2 separate regions of the Homo sapiens genome follow, and region 1 is linked to region 2. Evidence: promoter capture Hi-C in human tissues and cell types (Jung and others, 2019). All regions are on one chromosome and are shown on one strand. Each heading gives the region's core, a stretch centred on a gene start or on the middle of the fragment in contact. The rest is flanking DNA. Distances are from core to core; before and after follow the strand shown.

Region 1 (4,308 bases), core at 1,493-3,992, 82 kb after region 2:
ATTGTACCACTTCACTCCAGCCTGGGTGATAAAGTGAGACCCTGTCTCAAAAATAAAATAAAATTAACAATAACTCCCCATCCTCCTCTTTGGCAATCACCATCCTACTTTCAGTCTCTAGGAATCTGACTCTTCTAGGTAACTAGAGTCATACAAATGGAATCATACAGCATTGTCTTATTTCATTTAAGATAATGTCCTCAAGGTTCATGCACGTTGTAGCATGTGTTGTGTTGCCCAGGCTGGCCTTGAACTCCTGGCCTTAAGCTATTCTCCTACCTCAGCCATCCCAGTAGCTGGGACTACAGGTGTGCACCACCATACCCAGCTAGAATTTCCTTGCTTTTTGTTTGTTTGTTTGTTTTGAGACGGAGTTTTGCTCTTAGTGTCCTGGCTGGAGTGCAATGGCGCAATCTCGGCTCACTGCAACCTCTGCCCCCTGGGTTCAAGCGATTCTTCTGCCTCAGCCTCCCGAATAGCTGGGACTACCGGCATGCGCCACCACGCCCGGCTAATTTTTGTATTTTTAGGAGAGACAGGGTTTCACCATGTTGATCAGGCTGGTCTCAAACTCCTGACCTCGGGTAATCCACCCGCCTCGGCCTCCCAAAGTGCTGGGATTACAGGCGTGAGCTACGGTGCCCAGCCTGTTTGTTTCTTTTTTGGTTATTTTTTGAGACAGGGTCTGGCTCTTTCGCCCAGGATGGAGTGCAGTGGTGTGATCTTGGCTCACTGGAACCTCTGTCCCTCAGGCTCAAGCCATCCTCCTACCTCAGCCTCTTGAGTAGCTGGGACTACAGGTGTGCACCACCGTGCCCAGTTAATTTTTGTATTTTTTCTAGAGACAAGGTCTCACTTTGTTGCCCAGGATGCTGGTCTTGAACTCCTAAGCTCAAGTGATCCGCCTGCCTTGGCCTCCCAAAGTGCTGGGATTGCAGGCATGAGCCCCCACGCCTGGCCACAGAATTTCTTTACTTTTTGGCCAGGCGTGGTGGCTCACGCCTGTAATCCCAGCAGTTTAGGAGGCTGAGGTGGGCGGATCACTTGAGTTCAGGAGTTTGAGACCAGCTTGGCCAACATGGTGAAACCCCGTCTCTACTAAAAGTATAAAAATTAGCCAGGCGTGGTGGCAGATGCCTGTGATCCAGCTACTCAGGAGGCCGAGGTGGGAGAATTCCTTGAACCTGGGAGGTAGAGGTTGCAGTGAGCCGAGATCGTGCCACTGCACTCTAGCCAGGGCGACAGAGCGAGACTCTGCCTCAAAAAAAAAAAAAAAAAAAAAATTCTTTACTTTTTAGTAGAGATGGGGTTTTACCATGTTGGCCAAAAAAATAAAAAATAAAAGAATTTTTTTTGTATGTATAGACCACATTTTGTTTATTCATTCATCTGTGGATGGACAGTTGGGTTGATGGACAGTTGGCTATTGAGAATAATGCTAGGGACAGGGTATACAGATACCTCCTAGAGGCCCTGCTTTCCATTCTTTTGGGTATATACCCGGAAGTGGAATCGCTGATAAATAGTTCCATTATTAGTTTTTCGAGGAACCACCATGCTTTTTTTCACAGCAGCTGCACTATTTTACATTTCCACCAACAATGTACAAGGGTTCCGATTTCTCCACATCCTGGCCAACACTCGTTATTTTCTGTTTTTTTTGACAGTAGCCACCCGGATGGATGCAAGATGGTATCTCATTGTAGTTTTCGATTTGCATTTCCCTAATGATCGGTGATGTTGAGCACATTTTCATGTTTTTGTTGGCTATTTATATATGGGTCATGAGTTCTTGATTAGTCAGTGCTATATGATGATGCTATACGTAGTTGTAGGAAATGTCCCTAACGGGGCAAAATGCTATGTTTTACATCTCTAGAGAGAGGAAGTAGATTGGTGGTTGCCTAGGGCTGGGGCAAAATGAGAGTGACTAGTAATGGGCAGGGCCTCTTTCTGGAAATAGTAAAATGTAGTGAATTAGATGGTGATGGTGATGGCTATACAATTCTAGGAACATACTAAAAACCATTGAATTGTACACTTTAAATGGGTGAATTTTATGTTCTGTAATGTCTCAATAAAACTGGTTTAATATGCTTTTTCTTGGAAAATAGACCTAAAACAGTAGCAGTGATGGTAGCAAAGGTTGCCACTTCATTGGCCAACTTTACCCAGTAGGAGGGGATGTTCCACATTTTTGGTGAATTTACAACCGAGAGGTACTCTCCTTGGGAAATCTGGAGGAGTGCCCCCTTGCAAGCTTATTTCCTGGCCCAGTGAGAAAGATCAGTGACTAATAAAGCTAGAGGAAAGATCACAAATGATTTAAGTTTAGAGTTGCTAGAAGCACATTTTAGTAGAGTTTGGGGTGGAGGGTGTCAAGGCCCCTTTCCAACAGTGATACCACCAGAGACCTCAGGTGTTACCGAAGAGAACATCGCCCCTTCACACCTCCTCTCTGTCCTTTTCAAAATGAGGAAATGGCTGGGTGCCATGGCTCATGCCTGTAATCCCAGCAGTTTGAGAGGCTGAGGCCAGTGGATCACCTGAGGTCAGGAGTTCAAGACCAGCCTGGCCAACGTGGAGAAACCCTGTCTCTACTAAAAATACAAAAATTAGGCCGGGCACAGTAGATCACACCTGTAATCCCAGCACTTTGGGAAGCCAAGGTGGGCAGATCACGAGGTCAAGAGATCAAGACCATCCTGGTCAACATGGTGAAACCCCATTTGTACTACAAATACAAAAATCAGCTGGGTGTGGTGGCACATGCCCGTAGTCCCAGCTACTCGGGAGGCTGAGGCATGAGAATCACTTGAAGCCAGGAGGCAGAGGTTGCAGTGAGCCAAGATCACGCCACTGAACTCCAGCCTGGGCAACAGAGTGAGAGTCCATCTCAAAACCAACAAACACCCCAAAAAACAAAATGAGGAAATGAATCCAGAGACAAGAAATAACTGGCCCTAGGTTCATGGCCAATTAGCAGCAGAGCCAGAGCTTCTAGCTCCCTTGCCTGGGCAGCTTCATTTAAGCTCCACGCGTCCAATCTAGCCCAGCCAACAGCCTCTGTCGCCAGAGCATCAGCTGCTGATGAGGAGCGGGGATGACGGATACCAACCGCAGCCCTCTCCAGAGGGCCTCCGTCCACGTGCACCGCAAATGTCTGACTTTCCCCACATGTGGCTCCGGCGGTTTTTGTTGGAGCAGCTTTCTCCCCTGTTTGTGCTCAGCTGCAACACCCTTCCTGCACCATCTGGAACGTGGCTAGGGCTCTCCATCACTTTGCCCACCCGCTCCGCCATGTTCTGCTGCGTGTCGGCCCACACCAACGCAGATCTCCTAAGTACAGAGAGTTCTGCTTTTATTGATTTCTGATTGCTCAGGGAGGAAACAATGCTGCTTGTCAAGCTTCAGAATCCTTGCACATAAGTAGTGACAGTTAAGAACAAGTTTGCAAAATCTTCCCCTTGGTCTGAACTACGGGCCTCCTCTGCCTACACACAGTCCTTGGCCCAGATCTGCATAGGGACAAGGTCAGTGGTTTAAAGGGGTTCGATCCCTGGGCTACAAGGTGGGCGATTCTGTCCCCTCGGCCTCTTAGACTGTTCCTCTGCCACAGCCCTGATCTTATTCTCTGAAGTCAGGAGTCCTAGAGAGCTCTACATAGTCTTGGAAAGTCTGGCCTGTAACTCAGTCCTTGTGCAAAGGGGAGATACTCCATCCCCTCTCCTCTCCAACTTCTTCTTCTCCTTCTCCTTCTCCTCCTCCTCCTCCTCCTCCTCCTTCTTCTTCTTCTTCTGTTTTTTTTGAGATGCTGTCTCGCTCTGTCGCCCTGGCTGGAGTGCAGTGGTGCTACCTCTGCCTCCCGGGTTCAAGCGATTCTCCTGCCTCAGCCTCCTGAGTAGCTGGGACTACAGGCCCATGCCATGACGCCTGGCTAATTTTTGTATTTTTAGTAGAGGTGGGGTTTAACCACCTTGGCCAGGCTGGTCTTGAACTCCGGACCTCAAGTGATCCACCCACCTCGGCCTCCCAGAGTGCTGGGATTACAGATGTGAGCCACTGCGCCTGGCCCAACTCCACCTTCTTTTTCTCTCCTTTTCTTTTTCTTTCTTTCTTTCTTTCCTCTTTCTTTCTTTCTTTTCTTTCACTTTCTTTCTTTCTCTTTCTTTCCTTTTCTTTCTTTTTCTTTCTCCTTCCTTCCTTCCTTCCTTCCTCTTTCTTCTCCTCCTTCTTCTCCTTCTCCTTCTTCTTTTTTTGAGACAGGGTATTTATTGCTCTGTCACCCAGGCTGGAGTGCAGTGGTGC
Region 2 (4,222 bases), core at 1,026-3,525:
GGACTTCTGTATCCTCACTATCTAAGTAATTTCCTCTTAACTCCTGTATCATTCCCCACTCTGGAGTGGTAACCCTAACTGCTCTTCGGGGTTGTTTGATGATGACTCTTTCTGGCTACTTCATACTTAAAAGGGGTGTTGTGTGGGGAACAGAAGCTAAGGGCTCCTCCTGGGGTCGAGCTAAGGGTCCTCGGAAAAAAGGCATGTCCGTGCATGGTTCTGTCTGCAGCACCATTTAGAGTTTGATTACTGTCAGCCATTCTGATGGGTTGTAACACTGGTTTGCCTCCACCAGATGTTGAGATAGTTTCCAGATTCCAGAGAAACCAGGCAGAGAGAAACAAACATGCTCCAAATTTTCTTCACAGGAGTATACCTTATTCAATTATTAAAGGCCATAAATAGTTCACAATAAGTTTTCTTGACTCGTTTTGATGAGTGTTGTACCTTGGGATCCCGGATGAGGTCCCCAACATGAAGCAGCTACATTGTTTGGGGTAAATACCTGGGGTTCATTGTCTCACGCCAAGAAAATTTAGGACACAGACACACATGAGGAGTTTAGGAGCAGAGGTTTAACAGGCAAAAGAAAGAGAAAGAAAAACAGCTCCTTAGTGAGAGAGAGGGGACTTCCAAGAGGAAAAGTCCCAAGACCTTGTCTTTGAAAAAGCAGTAGCTCATGCCTGTAATCGTAGTGCTTTGGGAGGTCGAGACAGGAAGATTGCTTGAGCCCAGGAGTTGGAGACCAGCCCGAGTGACATAGGAAGACCATGTTTGCAAAAAACAAAAAAATTAGCCAGATGTGGTGCACACCTGTATTCCCAGCCCCTCGGAGGTTGAGGTGAGAGGGTGGCTTGAGCCCAGGAGTTCAAGGCTGCAGTGAGCTATGATCGTGTCACTACTCCAGCCAGGGTGACAGAGACCCTGTCTCTTAAAAAAGATTAAAAAAAAAAAAAAAGTCAAGTGCCTACCAGATGCCTAATTCTTTTTTTTTTTTTTTTTTTTTTTGAGACAGAGTCTCGCTCTGTTGCCCAGGCTAGAGTCAGTGGTGCAATCTTGGCTCATGGCAACCTTCGCCTCCTGGGATCAAGTGATTCTCCTGCCTCAGCCTCCTGAGGAGCTGGGATTATAGGCACCCGCCACCACACCCAGTAATTTTTGTATTTTTAGTGGAGATGGGGTTTCACCATGTTGGCCAGGCTGGTCTCAATCTCCTGACCTCAGGTGATCCACCCGCCTCGGCCTCCCAAAGTGCTGGGATTACAGGTGTGAGCCACTGTGCCTGGCCCTGATTTAGTTCCTTTCCTCCAAGGCTGGCTTCTACCTCTTCCCCACACAGTGACACTGTACCCCGACCAGACAAGCAAGTGTCTGCTTTCCCTTGGCTTCTTACAACTGGCTCTCTGGGCCATCTACAAAAAATTTTAAAAAATTAGTACAGCATGGTGGCACTACTGTCCTAGCTACTTGGGAGGCTGAGTTGGGAGGATTGATTGAGCCTGGGAGGTCGAGTGCAGTGAGTGATGATTGTGCCACTGCAGTCCAGCCTGGGTGACAGAGCGAGATCCTCTATCAAAAACAAATAAACAAAAAAGCACTTTGCAGAGGTGACTGAATGTTCTGGAACCCCTGGGCCATTGGAAATGGATATCTGTTGCTCCATCCTCCAGTTTACACCGTAGCCTCAGCTTGTGTCTCAGTGTGCCCCTCTCCCTCTGGTCTGTGCTCTCTCTCTTCCAGAGGCTGGGAAGGTTGTTCCAGGGCTGCAGCCTTGGACCTCAGAGGTCACATGTTGCGGGTTTGCCGTAGCTGACCACTCTCTAGCATGTGGATCAGTGGCTGTTAAATAGGATTTCTTTTGCGTGGCCTTACAACTTCCTCCTTCCAGTGCAGGCGTGTCAAGGTCCTTAACCTGCCGAGACTTCAGGTCAAGTTATTGCAAGTTCTGGGAAGACTCAGCTTCCCAGCTCCACCGCCTGAGCCCAAGGGATGCTCCATTTTATGCCTGTCACCCACGCCCTGTGACCCATGTCATGTGATCCCAGGGCTGCAGGGGTTCGGGGGAAGAGAATCCAGCCACGGCCCTGCCTTCTGGGGCCTGGCAGCTGGGACAGCAGTGGCGCAGCCTGAGCCTCTGCACAGCCTTCTGGGGTCCGGGCTTCTTCCCCATCACACCCTCCTAGTTGCCCTGGTGACTGTGTGACCCCTCTCCCCCCTCCACCGCCTGCTGCCACGGCCGGCCGTATAAATAGAGGCGAGGAGCAGCTGGGCTCTCTTGGCAGTCACCATGAGGGCGCTGGTCCTGCTCGGCTGCCTCCTGGCCTCGCTCCTGTTCTCAGGACAAGCAGGTAGGGCCCCTCCCAGCATGACCCAGCCCAGACTGGTCCCCCACGCTTCCTCCAAGGTTTTCTGTCTACCATGGGTTGGGTAGGGGGTCGGGGCTGATGGCAAACCCTGGCTCTTGGCTGGTGTCTTCTTACCCTTCTCTTTTCCCCGGGCCTGGGGCCTCAGAGAAAGAGCTGGGTGCTGGAGAATAGCAGCACAGTTGCGGGGCCCTCAGGAAGGCCAGAGGAAGTGGGAACGGCAAACAGAGCTGAGCTGTGAGCCAGGGTCAGAGAGGAGTCTGGCCAGTAGATGTGGGAAAGAGGGCCCTCAAAGTCGAGACGGGGGAGCCTCTGAGACGGACAAAATAGCACAGTCTGGGAGCTGGAGGTCGTTGAGGTGACCCTCCCACCTGGTGGGATATAAGGCGGAGGCCCCACTCGGGTAAGAGAACTGGGTTTGCGTGGACAGAAGGGGATACAGTGGGCAAAGGTGGGGACCGTTTTGGGAGCAGTGAGATAGAATTGGAATTGGTTTGGGATAAGATCGGAAATAGAGTTGGCGGTTGGGCTGGAAACAGCATTGGATGCAATTCAGAAGAGGAACGGGGCCCGTTCTGGAGTAGAGCCTCTGCTCGGGGTGGGGGCTTCCATCAGAAAAGGGGCTTGGCTCTGTGTGCTGAGGCTTCCCTTTGACATCTCAGCACTTTGGGTAGCAGAGGTGGTGGCTTGGGTTGCAGCATGGGGGTTATCTATAGGCTATGGAGGAGATGCCAGATTGTTTTGCCACCTCTCTTGTTCCTAAGGTTCCTGAGGCCAGGTTCCCCGAGGGAATGCTTTTAGGGAGGTGCTCCGGGGATCCCCCTAGGATCCGGACTGCCCACCGAGTCTTTTCATGACTCGGCAGTCTTCCCCCAAGCTGGGCTCTGAGCCTAGGTCCGTACCTGGGACTGGAGAGGCCCAGAGTCCAGCCTCTCAGGTCTTTGAGGTTGAATAGGGGGTTGCAGGGGCACAGTCCCTGCAGGGAGAGCAGGCAGTGGGTGGGAACAAAAGCTATTTCTCGGGGACTCAAGATGTAAGGTGGGGGGCTCCAGCCACTGCATGTGCTGCTGGGCCCTGCCCTTGTCTGTCCTTGAGTTAATTTGGGCTCTGCAGGGCTGCAGCGGCTTGAGTGCTGAGTATTCCAGGCGGCTGTCAGGCGGCTAAGTATGGAAACAGCCGCGTAATTGGATCCGGAGCCCCAAGCCGCTGCCACCCTCTCCCTTCGTGGCCGCTCCTGTGCTGCCCCCCAGCCCCAGCTGCTGGGCTGCTACACACTGGGCCCCAGGAATTTTTGGCCTTTTAGGGACATCCTTTATCTTTCCTCCCACCGAGGGAACTGGTCATCTGGAATGTTCTGCAGGCCTCGCTGGGGGCTCTTGTCGTGGGGAAAGGACGCAGGCAGGTGCTTGTGCAAAGGTCCCTTCTCTCTGCTGTCTTTCCTTCCTGGGTCCCACAGCGTGCGTCTGCCCCTGGCCCAACCTCCGGCGTAAAGCTTCCCTCTGTCCCTGCTCCTGCTCAGCACTTGGGCTGTGGGTTTCATCCACTGTGGTGGATTTTATCAGGACTCTGCCCCACTGTGGACTGTATACCCCAGAATAGGCCTCCTCCTGCATCCACCGGCAGGTTCTAACCCACAAGGTGGCTTCCTCACGCCCCCATCATGACAGTCCTTCCTACTGGGTGATTTCCCCTTCAGAATTGTGCCACCCCGGTAAATACCACCCCACCCAAAGGTCACATCTTGGCTCCTGACCTCTTTCCCTCATCTCTCCGCTGTGTGCTAACTTCCCTCCCTATCATGCTTGCTCCTTGGCTGGGTGGCGGCAGATATTCTCGCTCACCACTCCCATCTGCTTCCT

What was found. Contacts are between HindIII fragments. The study calls those that stand out against the background at their distance.
Region 1: a contact is called between a fragment that was not itself captured here and the fragment with the promoter of SRL in region 2, in 2 of the 25 tissues and cell types used here (aorta and pancreas).

Annotation. Positions count from the first base shown.
Region 1 is chr16:4,158,757-4,163,064 of GRCh38, reverse strand. No RefSeq gene overlaps it. Among named protein-coding and RNA genes, the nearest start is that of ADCY9, 44 kb to the right of the region's middle. The HindIII fragment of the contact is 4,692 bases long and covers 397-4,308 here.
Region 2 is chr16:4,240,133-4,244,354 of GRCh38, reverse strand. It overlaps SRL (sarcalumenin), which reads left to right and starts at 2,275. Exons shown (of 6, transcript NM_001098814.2): 1 at 2,275-2,348. The coding sequence starts at 2,288. The HindIII fragment of the contact is 19,223 bases long and covers 1-4,222 here.